Regions from separate parts of the Homo sapiens genome. Here region 1 is linked to region 2. The links are contacts of gene promoters, found by promoter capture Hi-C in blood cells and fetal thymus (Javierre and others, 2016). All regions are on one chromosome and are shown on one strand. Each heading gives the region's core, a stretch centred on a gene start or on the middle of the fragment in contact. The rest is flanking DNA. Distances are from core to core; before and after follow the strand shown. Region 1 overlaps ARNT2 (aryl hydrocarbon receptor nuclear translocator 2). Region 2 holds the start of ABHD17C (abhydrolase domain containing 17C, depalmitoylase).

The links. Contacts are between HindIII fragments. The CHiCAGO score rates a contact against its expected background, and 5 or more counts as called.
Region 1: a fragment that was not itself captured here is called in contact with the fragment with the promoter of ABHD17C in region 2 in 1 of 17 cell types (M0 macrophages); the score reaches 5.4 in M0 macrophages.

Annotation. Positions count from the first base shown.
Region 1 is chr15:80,445,121-80,450,729 of GRCh38, forward strand. All of the region lies in intron 1 of ARNT2 (aryl hydrocarbon receptor nuclear translocator 2), which reads left to right. Among named protein-coding and RNA genes, the nearest start is that of ARNT2, 44 kb to the left of the region's middle. The HindIII fragment of the contact is 2,904 bases long and covers 1,590-4,493 here.
Region 2 is chr15:80,692,832-80,698,516 of GRCh38, forward strand. ABHD17C (abhydrolase domain containing 17C, depalmitoylase) reads left to right here and starts at 2,479. Exons shown (of 3, transcript NM_021214.2): 1 at 2,479-3,188. The coding sequence starts at 2,599. RefSeq lists silencers at 1,197-1,491, 1,953-2,112, 2,133-2,242, 2,263-2,682, 2,773-2,822 and 1 more and an enhancer at 3,013-3,082. The HindIII fragment of the contact is 4,321 bases long and covers 704-5,024 here.

The DNA of each region.
Region 1 (5,609 bases), core at 1,792-4,291, 250 kb before region 2:
ATGGAGTGTGTGTGGTGTGTGTCACTGGTGTGTATATGTGTTGATGTGAGTGGTGTACGCAGGGTGTGTGGGGTGTGTGAGTGTTGTGTATGTGTGTTGAGAGTGGTGTGGAGGGGTGGGGTGTGTATGAGTGATGTGTATGTGTGTTGATATGGGGTGTGTGCAGGTGTTGTGTATATGTGTCGAGAGTGGTGTGGGGGTGTGTGGTGTGAGTGGTGTGTTTGTGTGTTGATGTGAGTGGTGTATGTGGAGTGTGTAGGGTGTGTGCAGGTGTCGTGTATGTGTGTTGAGAGCAGTGGGGATGTGTGTGGTGTGTGTGAGTGTTGTGTATGTGTGTTGATGTGAGTGACGTGTGTGGGGGTGTGTGGTGTGTGTGAGTGGTATGCATGTGTGTTGATGTGATGATGTGTGTGTGTGAGTGGTGTGTGACGTGTGTGTTGGTGCATGAAGCCCTGAGAGGAGGTGGGTGGGAGACAGGATGGAGGAGGCCGGTGCAGCATGGACTGGGTGCAGGCTCCCAGCTCAGGACTCAGCTCCGCACAGGGAGACCCGAGTGGGGTCTGCACTCCCTCCTGAGATCCGGGTGGGCCTGACAGCTGATGCAGAGACAGGACTCTGGGTAGAGGGACCACTGGAGGTCGGAACAGATGGAGCACCTCATCTCAGGCTCACGGGGTTTGCAGCTCCTCCTTCTGTCTCTGGCCACAGCCTCACGTGGGGGATCGTGTTACGAGTGGGGTGCTGAGGAGTCCAGAGGGCCTTCTGCCCCCTCTGCCCCTCTGATCTCTCTTGCACTCCTGTGAGTTAGAACCAGAAAAGCAACATTATCAAAGTGACTCAAGTCCTTACCATAGCAAAATGACTCTAAGTGGTGTTAGCATCTGTGTGTGTGTATTTTTATTGAACACTTACATGTGCTTACGCTGTGCCAGGCATCATTCTAAGTGCTTTACAACGATTAGCTTCTTTAATCCTCATAACTCCAGGAGGTGCGTTGCTATCCCCATTTTGCAGATAGAAAACCAAGGCACAGAGAGGCTAAGTAATTTGCTCAAGGGTTATATAAAGATCACACGTACATACAGGTATAATGTCTGCTTGGAAAAGACGTTCTGTGCTAGGCGAAAGTAACAGAGGAGAAGGAACATTTCTTCTACTAGACATGATAAATAATTGGCTTTCCTTAATACTTACAATAACCGTGTGATGTAAGTATTTTCCTGATCTTATAGAGGGGGAGACTGAAACTTAGCGAGGTTCAATAGCTTGCGCACGGACCCCATGGCTAGATGGAGTGACCCCAAAGCATGAACATGTCCTACGTGCCATACAACTTTCATCTGGGCCTGTGATTGAGAATCGTGGCCTTAGCACATCTCTTGCCACCCCAGGGAAGGATCTGCCTAGCCACCTGGCCTCCGCCTGGGCACCACAAGGGACAGGGACCCCACAGTGGGTGGCCAAACACGTAAGAGCCTGCTCTGCCCTTCACTAGCCATGTTACAGGGTACAGGGCTGACCGGTCCCTGCCGAGTTTCCTAATCTGTAAAATGGGATGAATTTCCATTTACTTTATAGGGTGGATGTAAAGCTTGTGCAAAGAAGATGGCAGAGTGCTGGAAACACAGTCAGTACCCAACATAAATCTTAGTTTAGGTAAAATTTTATCATTGTTCTTAAGCCAATCCGTCCCATTATTGGACACTTACTATTTAAAAAGGGCTTCCCCTTCCTCTGTCTCTGTCTCATTCATTCATTGCTTCCAGTTCTCACCAGTTATATATACTTTCTCCTGTGTCTTCCACATGAAACCCTTTAAAAAGTATTATTCTATTTGTGATCACTCAATTGACATATCATTAAATTAACACATGCATTGGGAGAAAATTAGAATATTCAAAAAAACAAGAAGAGCTTTTAGGATAAAATAAAACCCACCTATAATTCTCACAACAGGAATAGCCAAGTTTAACATATTAGTGTGTTTCTATCTGCCTTCTAGTCTTTTTTCTGTGCATATAACACACACACACACACACACACCCTTCCTCTCATCTCCCATCACAGCAAGGGAGAAGCTATGTCTGTGTTAGGTCCAGGACAGTGGGGAGTGTGTTTGCTGTGTGTCAGGGGTGTACATGTGCATGAATATTCTAATGTCTGTTGACACAGACTGCTGAGCTCTCCTCTGGAAAGGCTCTACTCATGAATACCCACAGCTGCAGGGTATGGTGGTGGCTGCACAGCCACCCTGGAGGTATCCAAAGTGTGATTTCCTCCCTATACAGTGCAGTGTTCAGTTCTCTTGGTGAGTGAAATTCAGAAACCCTGGAGCACATCATCAACTGGCTTGCAGGGCTGCTCTTCATCTGAAGGTTTAGCCAACTTTGCTCTATTGATACCAGGCCTTGTCTTTGGGACTGTCACCTCCAACCTGAACAGGGACCTTCCTAAGCCACCTTCTTTGGATGGACATCCCAAGAACTTTGCTTGCTTCGACTTGAGTCACAGAGAAAAGATGCCAGATTTGGGAAGCGGGTGCCAGACTTTTCCAGGGAAGGCTGACAGCTGATCACATTATAGATACGGACATAGATTGCAGAGGAGAGAGACTTGTTTTTTCACTTTTGTTTGAATTTATTAAGGGTGGCTCCTAAAAATCAATATTAGAGAAAATATTTTATCTTTAAAGTCAATGTTAGTCTCATCGATTGCATTTTCTGTTTGGCTTATTTAGTATCCAGAACACTTAATTACAAAAAATAGCATTTGATAAAATGAGGCATCCATTCCTTAAATAAACTTTTTAAAGTAGACATAGGAGCAGATTCCTTGACAACAGAAACAGTGTCTGTCTTAAACCAGCAGCTCATTCCAGTTAAATGCAAGGCTCAAGCAAGATTGCTTACCATCAGCATAATCATGATCATTTTAATTATTGTTGCTTGAGTGTTTTTTTTTCCCAAGCACTATGTTAGGCTCATCACATACCTTGTCCTTAATTTTTAAAATGCCCCTTCAAGGTACATATTATGAACATTTCACAGCTGACACTTTGACCTAGAGTAGCCCCGTCACTCATAGCTGGGAGGTGTTTGAGTTGTGATTTGAAACCAGATATATCTGACTGCAAGGTAGTGACTTTCTTTTACCTCATGATAGGTCATTTTTACTCAATATTGCTCTGAAAGTTCTGGCCAATGAAATAGGACGTGAAAATAAGAAACTAGACATGAAATCAGACAAGAAAAAGAAAGATCACTTGTGGGCACCCACGCAGGTCATCTAATCTCTCTTTGCCTTGCTCCCTTCATCTGTTGGAGGAAAGAAAGGACTTGGTTTTCAGTGTTCCTCATCCTTTGCCCCACCAGCCAAGGTTTTGGGGAGCTTTACTTTTTTCAACTTATATTGCCAAAACTATCGGCATTTTTGTTTTACCCAAATTAAATTCAGGTGATTGGAACGGGGAAGGGATGACAACATTTCTAGGATTACCAACAATGGCTAAGATCTCTTCCAGCCTGAAATTTCCTCAACTCGAAGGCAGGAATGAGGTAATGGCTTTAAAATACCAAAACTTGGGCCTGGCGCGGTGGCTAACGCCTGTAATCCCAGCACTTTGGGAGGCCGAGGTGGGCAGATCATGAGGTCAGGAGATGGAGACCATCCTGGCTAACACGGTGAAACCCCATCTCTACTAAAAATACAAAAAAAATTAGCCGGGCATGGTGGCGGGCGCCTGTAGTCCCAGCTACTCGGGAGGCTGAGGCAGGAGAATGGCGTGAACCCGGGAGGTGGAGCTTGCAGTGAGCCAAGATCACGCCACTGCTCTCCAGCCTGGGTGACAGAGTGAGACTCCGTCTCAAAAAAAACAAAACAAAACAAAACAAAACAAAAAACCAAAACTTGTGCTGCTTAGAACATTAGCTGAGCAGGTGATCCATTTTTAAAGTTTCCACAATTAGAGATATTTATGATATACTGGGATAACCGAAGTTAAGCAATCCTCTTTATATAGGTAGGACTTGTCAATATGTTTTTAGTGGATGTTGGAATCTCCAAGAAAGGGGGTAAGTGCACAGCTTTTTTCTTAACTTATTTGACCATGGAACTCTGTTTCTTGGAGAATCTTAAGGGGCTGCTGTTCTGTGGAACTTATTTTAGAAAGTAGTGACTTTCATTGTCATCTGTCTTTGCTGTAACAGTGATTCTGCCCTTCAGTTTGGGGACATAATGGACTCAATGTGTTTTAGCCTCCATTTCAGAAAAATATAAATATTTTATCAAAGCAGGCAGATGATAAAGTTGTTGGGTTATTGCTTTTAATACTGTCTAGCTGTCACAAACTCAGTTGTCTAAAGGGGAGAGAATTACTTTAAGAGGAGGATTTTTTTTTTCTTTGAGGACTTTTTGATGTGTACCTTGGTTTAAAAAACAAAACAAAAGTGTAATCATTCCCCAAGTTTTGTGGACATAGCAAGATGACTAAATTAAGCTTTTGTTTATTGTGAAATTGTATTGTGTATTGTAAAATTCTTCTTCAAGAGTTTTGAGTGGGATAGTTCAAGTTGAGCTTCAAATGTGTTTATTAAACATACAGTGTTTTGGGGCGTAACTGTGGGTCAACTGTCACAGGACTCCCTGAGTTCTACTGAAAGGAAACAGAGCAGTAGCCTACACCAACCATGCACTGTCAACATCACCAGGCATCTCTCTCCACTAAGAAGGGCCCAGATTCCTTATGTATCCTGACCCATCTTTTATATATATTTTTGTAGATTGCTGCTTCCCTTCTTCCCCTGGGTAAAAGTTGAGCTAAGAAAAGCTAACACTGTGGAAGTCGTTCCCAACCACGGTAAACAGAATCACAGAGGCCACTTGAAACATTTGTCGAGTCATGGAATGGTCTGGGAAAGGGTGCCTGAGCTTAGGAGCTCTCCGTTAAGTAGGAAAGAGAGACTGCTTAGTGTGGTTTCTTTGAAATCAGGGATGCTTAACATGACCTTAACGAGCTTCCAAAATTATCTGGCTTATAAGAAATAATGTCTTGGCCACAATGTGCAGGAAAGGTACTCTTATTTAGTAATAGACCTTCTTATTCTTTAAATTAATATTTATTCCTGAAAAGGTCCAGCTCTGGAGATCCAGGAAGCCTCAGCCTGGCCTGCTATAGCCTGAAGTGATGCTTTTAACACCCTAGAGCTCACTGTCTTCGTCAATAACAGAGGGGCCAAGCAGGGCTCAGATACTCAGGGCTTCTGAGTCCAGAGTAGGCGTGGCAACCAGCCTTTCTGCTTGAACACGAACCTAGGGCAACGGAGGGGCAGTGGCGGGCACTGCAGCAGGGCGTTGCCTCTCAGGGCGTGTGCCCCATCTGGGTTACCAGGAGTTGGTTCTTTCCCTCAGGCCTTAGCTGTGCTGCTCGGATTCCTCTGCATCTTACCTGCCTCCAGGTGGTCAGGAGACAGGAGTCCCTTATGAAAGCTGCTAAGCTCTTTTAATTCTGTTTAATTCTGTGGTTAAACTGTTTAACCACTGTTCCAATCAGTAAATATGAGAGTACTGCCAGAGATACCCTTTTCCAGAGAAAGAGGAAAGACTTGCCCCAG
Region 2 (5,685 bases), core at 1,229-3,728:
GAGGAGTGGTATCTGAGAAAGACTGACTAGGGGGCTGTTAGATACCCTTTCATCTCAGTTCCCAAAGTTTGATTCTTGTTCTGAATTAGATTAGGGACTAATGCACTCGACTATAACCTTAGCTCCCCATAGAAATATCACCACTGAATCAGGACGCAAGACCATCTTCTTAGCTTTTATGAGGACTTGATTTTTTTTAAAGGCACATAAAAACTGTTTTGAATCTTCTGCTGATGCCCTAATTAGACTGTAAGGTATCTGAGAGCAGGGACTATCTTACTCACCTTGGTAGCTGTAGCACCTAACACAGTGGATGCTGTGAGCACAAAAAACATTACATACATAAATGCTGAATACAATAAAGTGACCAAAGTATACCAATGTGTAGCAAGTTAGAAAGCCTTTTTATTTTTTTGAGACATAGTCTCACTCTGTCACCCAGGCTGGAGTGCAGTGGCATGATCTCGGCTCACCGTAACCTCTGCCTCCTAGCTTCAAGTGATTCTCGTGCCTCAGCCTCCTGAGTAGCCGGGATTGTAGGTGCACGCCACCATGGCCGGCTAATTTTTGTATTTTCAGTAGAGACGGAGTTTCATTATGTTGGCCAGGCTGGTCTTGAACTTCTGACTTGAAGTGATCCACCCTCCTCAGCCTCCCAAAGTGGTGGGATTACAGGCGTGAGTCACTGTGCCCAGCTGTATAAAGCTTTTTTTTCTTTTTAAAGGATTTTCGCAGAAAAATTCTTTTTTTAAAAAAAAAAAAAAAAAAAAGGAAATGCAAACCTGCAAAGCTAGAATTGGGCTTTATGTGAAGAGTTTCACCAAGTGTGAAAACCTTCAAAACAGACTTCAAATATGCAATCTGGACAGGCTTTGTTACCAGGTTTTTAAAAATCAAGTTTGAATAGTTCAAAAACAAGTAAAATTGTTTTAGTGAAGAAATGGCCTTTTAAAACCCAGGTCCTAGCTGGGCAAGGTGGCATGTGCCGGTAGTCCTAGCTACTTGGGAGGCAGGCCGGAGGGTCATTTGAGCCCAGGAGTTGGGAGTCCAGCCTGGACAATACAGTAAGACCCTGTCTCTTAAAAAAGAAAAAATTAAAAGCGAGGTCCTGAAGGTTAATGAAATCAGTATCGGCAATTCATTTAGATGACGGTGCTCAAAATATTCGTCCTGTGGAAAGTCACAACGAAAGGTAAAATTCTCAGGACATCTGTGAGTTAAAACAACAGACCCAGCGTAGGGATTGTGCCAACCTCCCAGTCTCTAGCTGCCCTGCTGGCAGTCCAGGAAGGGTATCTCCTGTCAGTTCCTGAAAGGGAATTCTTCAGCTGCCAAATCAGGCGGGAAAAAGGAAGTATAGAAGGCTCTGTGGAAACTGGCACCAGAGCACAGTTTCAAGGCACCGAGAGTTATATTTGAAAAATCATGTAAAGGTGGCTGCCAAGATTACAGTAGATTTAAAGCAGTATAAGAATCGTTCATGACTAAGACCACTGAAAAATCCTGGACCCAAAACAACTCTAGAGACACAAACACTGTAAACGATACCTAGTATATACTTACTACCGGAAAATCTGCCACACGTGGGATTAGAAATGACAACCTCAACATGGTTTGTTGCTAAATACAGTACCCTCCTGTTCTAACAGCTGACTTTTATAGATACAGAAATGTACTAAGGGTAAAACCATGCCCTTAGAAAGGAAACGCTGTTGCTACCTATACAGAAACAGCCTCTCCTAATAAGAAACACACTGATGACCACCCTATCCCACAACCCCGGTACCCCTTACGGTGCTGAGAACTTTTGGTACTGAGCCAGTTCAGAAAGCAGCACACACGAGAGCCAAATATTTCGGGCACATTCCAACTCTTGTCCACCCCTTAGTTTCCTTTTCAGTAGACTCCCAAGAACCTCCATCCACGGGAGAAACCTGGATTTGGGGGAGGGAATCCCAGGGGGAGGGGAGGGGAGCGGTCCACCCCGGGACACATGCACCCCCTCCAGGGTCCCCTCTGCAGATCGGCCCAGCTGTCCGGGCGCAGAGCCCCCAGCCCCGGCACCCAGCTTCTCCGGGCCCCGGAGCCGCCTGGAAGCCCCCGTCGGCCGCAGGTCGAGAAGGTGCTTCCCAGGCCGGGGAAGGTGCCCGCGCCCTTGCCCGCAGCGCCCCGCCCCGATGCCCGGCTCTGCGCCGCGTCCCAGCGGCGGCGCCGCCGCGCGGTAACCCGGAAGTGGCGGCGGCGGCGGCGGCGGCGGCGGGCGTGCGGGAGCGGGAACGGGAGCGGGGGGCGGCGCGCACGAGCCGGCCATGGACGCCGCCGCCGGCTTTGTGTGCCGCGCGCGGGCCCGGGCCGCCCGCGCCTCGCCTGGGTTCCGGGGCCGCCGCTGACCCGCCCGGGCTCCGAGCGCCGCGCCCGCCGGGCCGGCCCCGCCTCCTGCCCTCCTCCGCCTCCGCCTCCTCCTGCCGCCGGGCGGGCGGGCTGCAGCCGCCCTCCGCGCTCGCCTGCCAGCTCCCTCGCCGCGCGTCCGTCCTCCGTCCTCCCGGGCCAGCCAGCCAGCCAGCCAGCCGGGCCGGCGGCGGGCACCAGGCCGTCCCGATGCCCGAGCCAGGCCCCAGGATGAACGGCTTCTCGCTGGGTGAGCTGTGCTGGCTCTTCTGCTGCCCGCCCTGCCCGAGCCGCATCGCCGCCAAGCTGGCCTTCCTGCCGCCCGAGCCCACCTACACGGTGCTGGCGCCGGAGCAGCGCGGCGCCGGCGCGTCCGCCCCGGCCCCGGCCCAGGCTACCGCCGCCGCCGCCGCGGCCCAGCCGGCACCGCAGCAGCCCGAGGAGGGCGCGGGCGCGGGGCCCGGTGCGTGCAGCCTGCACCTCAGCGAGCGCGCCGACTGGCAGTACTCGCAGCGCGAGCTGGACGCCGTCGAGGTCTTCTTCTCGCGCACGGCCCGGGACAACCGGCTCGGCTGCATGTTCGTGCGCTGCGCGCCCTCCAGCCGCTACACGCTGCTCTTCTCGCACGGCAACGCCGTGGACCTGGGCCAGATGTGCAGCTTCTACATTGGCCTCGGCTCCCGCATCAACTGCAACATCTTCTCCTACGACTACTCGGGATACGGCGTCAGCTCGGGCAAGCCCTCCGAGAAGAACCTCTACGCCGACATCGACGCCGCGTGGCAGGCGCTGCGCACCCGGTGAGCCTGCCGGGGTCGCCAGGCCTGACTTCCAGCTGTGGGGAGGCGGGGTGGGGGTCTCTTGGGGCCCCTGGGGCGGCCTGCCAGGAGAGGGGCCCCTCCTCCGGGGCTGAGGGCCAGCGGAGAGCCCCTTGGCCGCCGTAAATTCGCTTTTCTTGTCCCACCCTGGCTTGCTCCCACCCTCTCCAAAAACCGCGCCAGCCTTCAGGTTCCTGGAGAGCTCGGACTCAGAGAATTTTGCCTGCTTTGGCTCGCCTGTGTGTCGCCGGCCCACCGGCTGGGTCTTTTGTGGCTCCGGTCACCGCGAGTGGCAGAGTGTGGGTGCTTAAGTACCGGGCAGAAAGAAACAACTTGGTTCGAGTTTCGTTTGTACGAGCTGAAGTGACCTTGGGCAAGGCACATGGGTTTCTAGACTCAGTTTCCTTCCCTGTAAAGTCAGTGGGCGAGACAGGATGGCCTCTAAAAGACTTTCTGGTTGTAAAGTGCGGGCAGGACAATGTCTGGGCAACCTTGGAAACAGCTGGAGCGTCAGGTGGAGCGGGGAGTTTGCCTCCTGGTGGGGCAAAGTAGTGGCACTGTGGGGCAGGAAGTTAGCTGGTAGCTGTGGGCCTGGCACCTTCCACACGGCCTCCATAACAGTCCAGGATAAGTTTGAAACTTGCAGGGGCTGGGAAATCTCTGACCTTAAATTAGCATTCACAGAAGGACTGAAAAGTGTTTAGGGTGGGCCATCTGTGAGCCAGGCACAAACTGGGGGCATGGTTTAGGGGTTAGACCTGGTTGTTTTATAACAAGCAAACCAAAAACCTGACTTTTATTCACTATTAGACAAAAGTCTTATACATGTGCAGGTCAGGTTACCTGTTTGTGCTCCAGTTTGGGTATCTGTGACCTTTCCGACCTGCCTCATAGCAGTGATGGTGAAAATAACCTGAGGCCATGTCTATGATGAGATTTGATTTCTTCAGATGAAAGAGTCCCCAGAGGAAGTACACCGGGCATTATTGTCGCCATGGACCCTTCTATAGTTTTTATCTAAAACCTGTTTGCTTATGCACATCACCAACGTTAATGATTTTTTTTTTTCATTCGTACTCACGCATATGTTCCTAAGTGACTCCTTGCCTGTCTGGGAAAATGGCTTGTCCAACAGGGAAGTACTTAATATTTGCTCTATGTTGCATGTTTATGCCCTCCTGAAGTCCTGAAGGGGATGCCCTCATTGGGATTATAGCTTTTCGAAAGTGGCTTAGGCAGATGAGAATGTATCATATGCAGATGCATTGGGTCAGAGTCTGTAAGTAGTTAAAAGCCACCTGTTCCAGTAAAGGGTTTCAAAAGTATGTGTCACACACAGTCTATAGCTTGCTAGAATTTGCTGTTGGCAAAGGTATTAAAAATAAGGTTGGCATTAGATCTTTAAAATTTGAAACATGAAAATCCTACCTTGAGTAGATTTTTTAATTGAAGAGTTTCCATAGAACATTGCTTCTGTGTGTGCATGTCCACATTACAATGAAAGCCTTTCACATGGCTCACCCTTTGCCCCAAATATACAGGTGTGTCTGTGTTACAGCTTACGTGGAGTGTAGTTATTTCCTGGAAACTTTTTTTTTTTTGGTCATATTTAGTTGAATTAAGGGGCGTTGTTTTGGATAATGTTGAATTATCTGATAGTGTATCAGTTGAATTAAGGGTAATTGTTTCGGATAACTTTGAATTATCTGATGGTATGTCTAAAGATTGCCCATGATTTATTTAATGTTATACCAGAACTCATATCTAAGTTAATTTATTCACCTGTAAAAAAGGTTAGAATTTGAAGGCTGCATGCGAAGCTTAGAATTTGAAGGAACCTTATAGATCCTCATGTCTTGTGCTTTTCAAACTGTTTTGACTGTAACCTCACAGTAAGAAACACATTTTACGTTTTGATCAAGCACACATACACGTCTGTATCCACATACCTGAAGCCAATGCTTCACAAAACAGTAATTTTTCTATGGGCAGCACACATAGCAGAATATGTTGTTTTATTTCACTTTTTTTTTTTTTTTTTTTTTGAGACGGAGTCTTGCTCTGTCGCCCAGGCTGGAGTGCAGTGGCGCCATCTTGGCTCACTGTAAGCTCCACCTCCCGGGTTCACGCCATTCTCCTACCTCAGCCTCCCGAGTAGCTGGGACTACAGGCGCCCGCCACCGCGTCCGGCTAATTTTTTGTATTTTTAGTAGAGACGGGGTTTCACCGTGTTAGCCAGGATGGTCTCGACCTCCTGACCTCATAATCCGCCCACCTGGGACTCCCAAAGTGCTGGGATTACAGGCGTGAGCCACCGCGCCTGGCCTATTTCACTTTTATAAAAAAGAAAAAAAAAGATGGTTGTGAATTGCTAAATTTATTTCCCAACTCATGTATGGACACTGCACACGTTCACCCAGCTCATCTGACAGGAGGATAGACTGGCGGCAAATCAGCAGTAGGTCTCTTGACTACCAGT